2 separate regions of the Homo sapiens genome follow, and region 1 is linked to region 2. Evidence: promoter capture Hi-C in human tissues and cell types (Jung and others, 2019). All regions are on one chromosome and are shown on one strand. The core of a region is centred on a gene start or on the middle of the fragment in contact, and the rest is flanking DNA. Distances in the headings are between cores, read along the strand shown. Region 1 overlaps TFAP2C (transcription factor AP-2 gamma). Region 2 holds the start of BMP7 (bone morphogenetic protein 7).

The links. Contacts are between HindIII fragments. The study calls those that stand out against the background at their distance.
Region 1: a fragment that was not itself captured here is called in contact with the fragment with the promoter of BMP7 in region 2 in 1 of the 25 tissues and cell types used here (aorta).

What each region holds. Positions count from the first base shown.
Region 1 is chr20:56,636,599-56,641,201 of GRCh38, forward strand. TFAP2C (transcription factor AP-2 gamma) reads left to right here. Exons shown (of 7, transcript NM_003222.4): 6 at 12-156; 7 at 1,130-2,685. The coding sequence ends at 1,415. Among named protein-coding and RNA genes, the nearest start is that of TFAP2C, 9.6 kb to the left of the region's middle. RefSeq lists an enhancer at 200-960. The HindIII fragment of the contact is 7,963 bases long and covers 1-4,603 here.
Region 2 is chr20:57,264,521-57,269,260 of GRCh38, forward strand. It overlaps BMP7 (bone morphogenetic protein 7), which reads right to left and starts at 2,121. Exons shown (of 7, transcript NM_001719.3): 1 at 1,185-2,121. The coding sequence starts at 1,602. It overlaps LOC112268270 (translation initiation factor IF-2-like), which reads left to right and starts at 1,920. Exons shown (of 2, transcript NR_171651.1): 1 at 1,920-2,122; 2 at 2,263-2,767. RefSeq lists an enhancer at 1-500, a promoter at 1,609-4,740 and a cis regulatory region at 2,228-2,320. The HindIII fragment of the contact is 13,311 bases long and covers 1-4,740 here.

The DNA of each region.
Region 1 (4,603 bases), core at 1,687-4,186, 630 kb before region 2:
GATTATTCTAGGTGAAGCTGTTCATTTGGCTAGGGACTTTGCCTATGTCTGTGAAGCCGAATTTCCTAGTAAACCAGTGGCAGAATATTTAACCAGACCTCATCTTGGAGGACGAAATGAGATGGCAGCTAGGAAGAACATGCTATTGGCGGCCCAGTAAGTATCTGAACTTGAATTTGATGATGACTCAATGCTCTAGACCTTGAGGTTGAGAAGATTCCCCCTCCACAGTCCCGATGGCTCAACAAAGAAATATTCTTGAAATAAATTAGGGTGGAGCAAAAGAAAATGGCAAGGGAGCTTCTTTTACAAAGTCAAATACATTAACTTTTTGTATGATTTAGAAGAGTGCATGACTCAGCCATGAGTATTTTTGAGCTGCTTAGTTATTCAACCCAAAGTAGTTGAGCTGCCCTTTCATTATTGTGTTAGCATATCTTACAAAAATGTGTTGAAAACCCGATTTGTTTTGTCACAACCAGTAAAGAGAGATTGTGTGCCTTCTACCTCCTGATAGCAAGACTTTTGTCTTTCAAATGTAAAGATCAGGGTGGATTTGTGGGCAAATTAACTGTCTCCAAAACGACTTAATGCAGCTGTGGGTTTTCTCATAGAAACCAACAGTAAGTTGATTTGAAAATGATGGTAAATGAAGCAGAACTAGTCGAGCCAGGAAATGGGGTAAAAGAGAGCGCAGTGAACCAGGCTGTGTCAGGAGTCAGAATTTCAGGGGGATGCTTCCTTCTCCCGGTTCCTCACGGAATTTGTTTATTGGAACCAACTTGTACCAAGGTAAACTGTCCCTTAAGCTCATGGGTTGGAATCCAGGCCCCATTACTTTTACCAGTCCTGGTGACCTTGGCCAGTTAGCTGGGGTTAAGTTAATCCTGTTGTCTTTTCTAATTGCAGTGAGGATTAAATAAGATAGTGCTTTAAAACAGCTTAACTCAGAGCCTGGCGCAGAATAGTTGCTAAGCGCAGCAGTTGGCTATTAGTATTAAATTCTCCTTCCTCGGGTTGAAGCAGTTGTGCTTGCCTCCCGGGCGCCAGCCTCAGTGTAGTTGGTTCTGTGCTCTTGACCTGTAAGGAGCTAGATGGAACTCATCGAGTCAACTGACTGTCTTCACAGGCAACTGTGTAAAGAATTCACAGAACTTCTCAGCCAAGACCGGACACCCCATGGGACCAGCAGGCTCGCCCCAGTCTTGGAGACGAACATACAGAACTGCTTGTCTCATTTCAGCCTGATTACCCACGGGTTTGGCAGCCAGGCCATCTGTGCCGCGGTGTCTGCCCTGCAGAACTACATCAAAGAAGCCCTGATTGTCATAGACAAATCCTACATGAACCCTGGAGACCAGAGTCCAGCTGATTCTAACAAAACCCTGGAGAAAATGGAGAAACACAGGAAATAAAATTGGAACGAAGAAAGGTTAGGAGAGTAGGGAAGGAACAGGACTGCAAAAATCCTTCTCCACCGCACAGACTGGGAACCCCTCCTGGCCTGGGGGAAGAGTTTGTTACCTACCTTACTATTTAAAGAGCCTTCACTGGTTCTGCATCACCCGCCCCTGGACTTCTTAGTTGTTTCTCTAGCGCTGAGCTATCTCCTAACTTTGGACCTATTATCAGAAGGTGACAAGTACTGGCTCTTTATTCATTAAGCTTTTTTTTTTTGAACCCCATTCTTTCCTTCTCTGAAAGTGGTGCTATAAGTTTTAGAATCTTTTAAATACATTCCCTGGGCCAACAGACCCACACACTTAGCCATTGAAATGTCAAATTGATGTGCCCTAGATCAACAGATCAACAATACCTTTTTTTTCAGTGTTAAGGTAATGGTTGGTTTTTGTGTCCGCTAAATATTTACCTTGAAAAAAAGAAAAGTGTGTATCTAGCTTCTTCAGAGATCAAGTCCTCTGGTAGGAGGCAAAGGTTCTATCTGCTTAGCAACTAGTTAATAAGTGGTATCTGACACACTCTAAACCCCGTGTTCAAACGGGGGCCTTCTGGTTTTAGGAAACTTGTAGAAACGAAGCCTGCTGATTGATTTTTTTCTCCTTTTTTTTTTTTTTTTTTTTTAACTTTGAAAGTTAACTCTTCAAATGGGAGACTCTTTGAAATGACATGTTCCTTTAAGGTACTGAAGCTTTATTTGCATATTTATTTCAGATGTTTCGAGTAAACTTGAAAAGGGTAGGCACGAAGCAATTTGTTGCTGCTTGTCACCCCCAAGTCCCCGTGGAGGTTCTGTATTTTAAGAAACAGTGCGTTGAGTGTACAGATTTTATTTATGCGTAATTTAATGGGGTCTGTAAATACTGGTGCACTTCTTACGACTTTTTTGAGACATGGGATCCAATTTTAATATTAACTTTTAATGGTGATGGGGTAATCTATAACACATCATAAGGTTTTATTCATATATATACAGGGTATTAAGAATTAAGAGGATGCTGGGCTCTGTTCTTGGCTTGGAAGATTCTATTTAATTGAAACTCTCTGTTCAGAAAGCAATAACTTTGTCTCGTTCCTGTTGGGCTGAACCCTAAGGTGAGTGTGCAGTACAGTGTGTGTGGGTGAAATGGAGATTTGGAATTGAACTCTCTGCCTGTAAATGTTCCCCAAATAATTGTTGTGTGTATGATACGTGTATAATAAAAGTATTCTTGTTAGAATCTGAAAGTCTGGCTATAGGTTTTTGTTTTTGCTTTTGTTTTAAAGTCTTTTGGGTGAATGGAATTAGGGCAGAGCTGATTTATGGCTTGACTGTGGCTTGGTTAATGCCCTGAGCAGGCAAGTTTTGTGTGCTGTTGGGGAGGAACCTGAAGTTTCACCTTTTCTCCCTAGCGACACTGTTCAGCTACCCCAGGCCTTATGCTGTCATCAGTGTCTCTCAACTGCAGAGGGATAGAATCATCCTCCCCACCCTGGAGGTGTTGGGAAATGTCTGAGGGACAGTTTATTGACATTAAGAGGGGCCAATGTTTTGGGAACAATGTCTCATGGAAGGTTACTGTATTGAGGACAGGTACACTGGCATACTGTACTCAGCATACTGTATAGTGGTCAAGAATGGAAGTGAAATGATTATGGGTGTTCTTTGGGCAGATGTTTCTCTCTTTTTTTTTTTTTTCTTTTTTTAAGATGAAGTCTCGCTCTTGGCCCCAGGCTGGAGTGCAATGGTGTAATCTCGGCTCACTGCAACCTCCACCTCCCGGGTTCAAGCGATTCTCCTGCCTCAGCCTCCTGAGTAGCTGGGATTACAGGTGCGTACCACCACACCTGGCTAATTTTTGTATTTTAAGTAGAGACAGGGTTTCACCATGTTGGCCAGGCTGGTCTCGAACTCCTGACCTCAGGTGATCTGCTCGACTTGGCCTCCCAAAGTGCTGGGATTACAGGCGTGAGCCACCGCGCCAGGCTGGGCAGGTGTTTCTTAGGAGGACTTGGCATTCAGTCGAATGCAAGCAGTGGACGTGCAGCATGCCAGTGTTTTCCATTCATCTAAGTTCTCTTTGGAAATGAGATCGTGCTCATCCACCCAAGACATCCTCTTCATTTCATCTGCCTGCAGGGGAAACCAGAGATTGAGTCTTTGTGCTACTCCAGGAGCAGAGGAGTCTGGCAGGGGTTATGTACTTGCTGGATGTTTGTGATGCACACGGCAGGTACTTGATCTCGAGTTGAAGCAGCCTGGCATCTCCTCCAGGAAGTGATGTGTTTAGAGTTTGCCATGTGTGGCCTGGCTTCAAAGGGAACTGGGAGCCGTAGGATTTTCCCCATTGGATAAGACCATTGCTTCAATGCCAGTTTTATAATCTTTAATTCATAATTCTCTACCAAATGCCCAACGATTCCTGACTTAATGTTGGCGTTGGATGTTATTAAGTAACTTAAACTCTGCCAACCCAGTGCTTTGCTCTTGGCATCTTGTCCTTGGCCACCAAGCATTCCCATTAAGTTGGATTTATCTGGTTGATATGACAAGATCACAATTGCTTTGCTTTGGAGTGGTGAAAAGAGATCTTAGGTTGGCAGTTATCTCTCAATCAAGGCTTGAAATGTTGAGTGTTAAGAGGAAGTTATGGGGGCAAAGGGCTGAAAGAAAAAGGGCTATTCTGTTATCAGCATCTTAACTTGCTTTTGGACCAGAGTCTGGCTTTTAGGAGCTGTGCTGAATTGCAACGCAGTCAGTGTTCTGGAAACGCCCCAAAGTCAACCAAGGATTGAAGGGAATCACAAGCAGTGCTTCTTTTTTATTTTTTTTTTGAGATGGAGTCTCACTCTGTTGCCCAGGCTGGAGTACAGTGGCTCGATCTCGGCTCACTGCAAGCTCCGCCTCCCGGGTTCATGCCATTCTCCTGCCTCAGCCTCTTGAGTAGCTGGGACTGCAGGCACCCGCCACCACACCCGGCTAATTTTTTTTGTATTTTTAGTGGAGACAGGGTTTCACCCTGTTAGCCAGGATGGTCTTGATCTCCTGACCTCATGATCCACCTGCCTCAGCCTCCCAAAGTGCTGGGATTACAGGCGTGAGCCACCACGCCCGCCCAAGCAGTGCTTCTTACTTGCCGGGTTCTTTCTCCACATCCCCACTGGA
Region 2 (4,740 bases), core at 871-3,370:
AGGGGGAGCTCCCCGGCCCTCGCTGCAGCCCCAGGCTCGCGTCGCCGGGGTCGTCGCGGCTCCAGTCGGAAACCGGGACCCCCAGCCGCCCCCGCGGCGTCAGCTCTGAGATCCCGCGCAACCCAATCGCCAAAACCTGTGGTTTGCGCGCCACACGTGGTAAATGCTGAAAATAGATTCTGCCGGCCCGGGACCTACCACTAAATACTTAAAATAGAAGACTAGCGGCAGGGCACAGTGGCTCACGCCTGTAATCCCAGCACCACTTTGGGAGGCTGAGGCGGGAGGATCACCTGAGATCGGGAGTTCGAGACCAGCCTGCCTAACATGGAGAAACCCTGTCTCTACTAAAAATACAAAATTAGCCAGGCATGGTGGCGCATGCCTGTAATCCCAGCTACTCGGGAGGCTGAGGCACGAGAATCGCTTGAACCCGGGAGGCAGAGGTTGCGGTGAGCAGAGATCGCGCCATTGCACTCCAGACTGGGCGACAAGAGTGAAACTCCGTCTCAAAAAAAAAAAAAAAGAAAAGAAAAGAAAAAAAAAGAAAAAAGAAAAAAATAAACAAAGAAAGAAAACAAAGAAAATTAGCAATGGCACCGTTTCTTCCCCAGCTCCAGCCAAGAGAGAATGGGGCATCCGGCGGCCCGGAGAGGGGCCCCAAGGCGCTCGGAGCGCGCGGTACGCTAAGGCGGGCGCACCACGAGGGGACAGGTAGGGCTTGACAGGGAGGGTAAGGGGGTGCGACGGCCGCGATGCCAGAGCCAGGCAGGGCTGAGAGGGGCCCAGGAAGGGCGGCAAGGCAGCCTCGCCGGGAAGGGCCCTTTACATCCAGGTAGCGCGAGCCGCGCCGGCCCGGGACAGCTCACATGACCGAGCCCCGCGCTTTGAACGGCCCTTGCCTCCAGCCCCAGAGATGCGGCCGGCGGCGTAACATGGAGGGGACTTCGGAGGATCCCTCCTTCCCAGTAACCCCTACAGGCTCACCGAACCCAGCGCGCCCGACCTGGGGGCGCACACAGCTTGGGAGTCATAGGGCTGTGGGTGGGAGACCCTCGGGCAGGCACTGCGATTTCAGCCAGGAGCGGAAAGCTGGGCGGGCTGCATAGAAGAAGCGGCTCCCTCCCTCCCAGTCTCAAAGTGCCCCCGAAAGGAGACGCGTACCCTCGCCTGCCCTTACTCACCGAGGTTGACGAAGCTCATGACCATGTCGGCGTCGGTGAGGAAATGGCTATCTTGCAGGCTGGCCAGAGGGGGGCCCTGGGTACTGAAGACGGCCTTGTAGGGGTAGGAGAAGCCCTGGCCGCCGGGCCCGCCGCCCTCCTCCACCGCCATGGCGTTGTACAGGTCCAGCATGAACATGGGTGCCGAGTTGTGCTTGCCCTGGAGGTGCGGGCGCGGGCGGTGGGGCAAGCCCAAAATGGAGAGGATCTCGCGCTGCATCTCCCGCCGCTCCTGGCTGCGGAGGCGCCGGTGGATGAAGCTCGAGTGCACCTCGTTGTCCAGGCTGAAGTCGGCCAGGGCGGAGCGCAGCAGGAACAGGGGTGCCCAGAGCGCCACGAAGCTGTGCGGCGCCGCAGCTCGCAGTGAGCGCACGTGCATCGCGCCGGCTCTACGCGCTACCCGGGCTCCGGGCTCCGGGCCCGCACCGCCCCAGGTGGCAGAGGGGGCAGGCGGCCGTCCGCGCCGCTCGGTCACTTGCTGCAGACGGGCCCCGCTGCGCCCGCGCCAGACATGGCCCCTCCCCGGCCGGCCGCGCTCTGCCCGGACCCCCGCCCCCTGCTCGGTGCTGGCCCCGGGCCCCTCGCCCCGCACTCGCCCGGGCGCACCGCAGGGCTTGGAAAGCAGCCCCGGCGAACGAAAAGGCGAGTGAGGAGGCGGGCGCGGGTGGGAGGAGCAGCCAGCAAGCCTAGGAGTCCAGAGAGCCAACGCCGGGGAGGCAGCGAGGAGGCAGGCGGGCGGGCGAGCGCTCCTTCTTCCCGCTCCTCTGGCGCTCTCGCCCTCGGGCGGCGGCAACCCACCCTCTTCCAACCTCCGGCGCGGATAGCAGGGGCCCCGGGGCGCTCTCCCAGCCTTGTGCGCCCTGGATCGCACAAGAGGCCGCCTCGGGAGCGCCAGAGTGGTACGCGCTGGGGCCTGGGCGGAGGAGGAGGAGGAGGAGGACGGGCTTCGAGGGGCCCCTCCCGCGCCGGCGGCCTCCCACCTGCCCTCGGCCCCGCCCTCCCCCCAGCTGTGCCCAGTGGGTTCATTCATTCCCTCTAGAGCGCTCGACAAATGTTTACTGAGTGCCCACGGGGTGCCTAGAGCCTGGCGGGACGTCGCGGGGATGCGGCTGGAGGAATCGGAGCCGGCCCTGCCCTCTCGGCACTCGCGGTCCGGACCAGGAAGGCGGCCCGAGCAGGACGGGTGGGCTGCGGACCGCGGTGGGAAAAGTTGGGGGAGCGCGGAGGTGGCGCGGAAATAGAAGGCTTCCTGGAAGCGGTGACCCTTGAGCCGGTCTTGCCCCTCAGTCCCTGTATCCTTTTAAGCCAGCCACGCTGACCCCTCCGCGCCTCCCTGAAGCCGTTGCCAGCCTGTCTCTGCGCTCGCCATTCCCTCCGCCTGGACCTCTCCCCACTCACCACCTCCCGCCCCCATCAGACGCTGCTTTCTCCTCCCAGAGACCTCCAAGACCTGCCAAGCTGAGGTTGTTTCCTCGCCTCGCCCCTCGCACGTTTGTTTTCTTTCCTGTAGTTTCTCTTGCTGTCTGGAATTGCTGTTTGAGTTACTCCGTGCCTTCTTTATTGCCTTCTTACCCCCGCTAGACACCCAGAGCACTGGGGCCCGGATCAGCGATCTTCTCCGCACCTCTGGTACCCGCAGTGCCTTGAACCCAGCGCCTGGTAGCCACTGTAGCTGCGCAGTCACGATTTGTTGAGTGAATAAGTGAACTGCGTGTGAGCTGGGGGGGTTCTTCCCACCTCCTCCTCTTCGGGGCCCTGTATCTTTCCAGCCACCCCTCAGCCTGAGACCAGACACCCCAGCCCCACCACTAGGGCTTCCCATCAGCCCTCCTCGTGGCAGTGCCTGGGGAGCCAGCCGCTGGTCTTCACATCCTCTTCCCCTCCAAGGGTCTGTGCCTGAGACCTCCCCATCGGCCTCCTCTCCTGTCTCTCCTCATCCATTCATCCCTCAATCAATACCGAGCCATGCACGCTGTCACAGGGAGTCCCCAGACCACTCAGAACCCACCGGTCCCTCTGCCGGTGTGGGATCTCAAGGGAATTACTGCACCCAGAGTGGCAGTGAGGGCAGCGGGGTAAAAGTTCATCCTGTCTCCTTCCCCTCCTGGGGCTGGGTGAGAGAGTGGGTCCCCAGAGGGCCTTTGGGATGAACTGGGAAGGGCTGAGGTTGGGGAAGCGGGGGCGCTTGTCTGGGAGGGGCTCTGGCTAAGCCTCACTTTGGGGCTGTCCTTCCTGGAGCAGGAGAGCTGGGGAAGAGAATTATGGTCTTCTACAGTTTTCTGGAGCAGAAGTAGTTTGGCCAAGTGGCCCTCTGGGTCTCCCTTGGGGACTTTTGGACTAGATGGCAGCCTGAGGGGCCACATGGGTGGAGAAAGGGGAGGCCAGAGGCCAGGCAAGGAGCAGAAAAATGCCAGCCTGCAGGTCCTGGCCATTTACACACAGGCCCCAGGCTGTGGGATGGAACAGGTCTTGAGCCCCATGCCAGGGAGGGGCCTCTACCCACCCACCAGGCAAGGCCCTCAAACCACCCCCACCACCTGCTCTTCATCCATTCACTCCTTCCTTCAACAGACAAGCATGGAGCACAGGATATCAGGAGGCGAGCTGTGGGGCCTGCAACCTGGACAGTCGTACAGGGCCCCCCAGCTCTTAAGGGCCCCACACTTGGTTTCCTACTCTGAGGTCACCATATGTGGTTCTGAATCACCTATGAACAAAGTACCCCCTGCCCCGTACTAATTTTGCACCTGGCCCAGATATTATGTGGCCAGTCCCAGGGCCAAGCACCATGCTGGGCAGGAAGACATGGCCATGAGCGAACCCACATGGCAGACTCCATCAAGGAGCCGGCCTCCAGGCCAGGGAAGCAAAGCAAGAGCCTTAAATAAGATTCAGGGACTGAAGGAGAGGCAGATCTTGTCTATCACTCTCTCTGGAAACAATTCAGAAGCCAGGCAGAGGAGGACATGCAGGAGGGAGAAGGAAAGGTGGGCATCCTGGCAAGCAGGAATCCTACCCCAGGGAGACTGGGGAAATTGCAGGAGTGCCACAGTCGTCCAGGGTCCATCTGAGAGTGTACAACTGGAGAGCCTGGGTCACTTCAGCCTGCAATAAGTGACAGGCAGTGGGGGCGGGGGCGCAGATAAACAGGGTGAGGTGATGGAGGGTGGGAAGGGGAGTTTTTGGAGGAGATGCCACTGACCTGAGTCCTGAAAGACAAGAAAGAGACAGGCTTTTCCAGGGAAAGGCATCCCAGGTGGAGGAACAGCAAGTGCTTGAGCCCTGCAGAGCAGGGAACAGAAACCAGGCTCGGTCCCCAGCCCTGCACACGCCCTCCAGCGCTGGCTTGCTAGGGACAGGCTATGCCACCTCCAGTGCCAGTAGAGAAAAAGGAGGTCATTTTCTTCCAAAGTCTGAAATAATAAGGAGCCAAAGCAGCCCTGTTCTTCAGTAGTAGTCTCTGCTTTTTATCTACTCTCAAATCTTTTGGAGGGATCTTCACAAGCAGGTGAGGCTG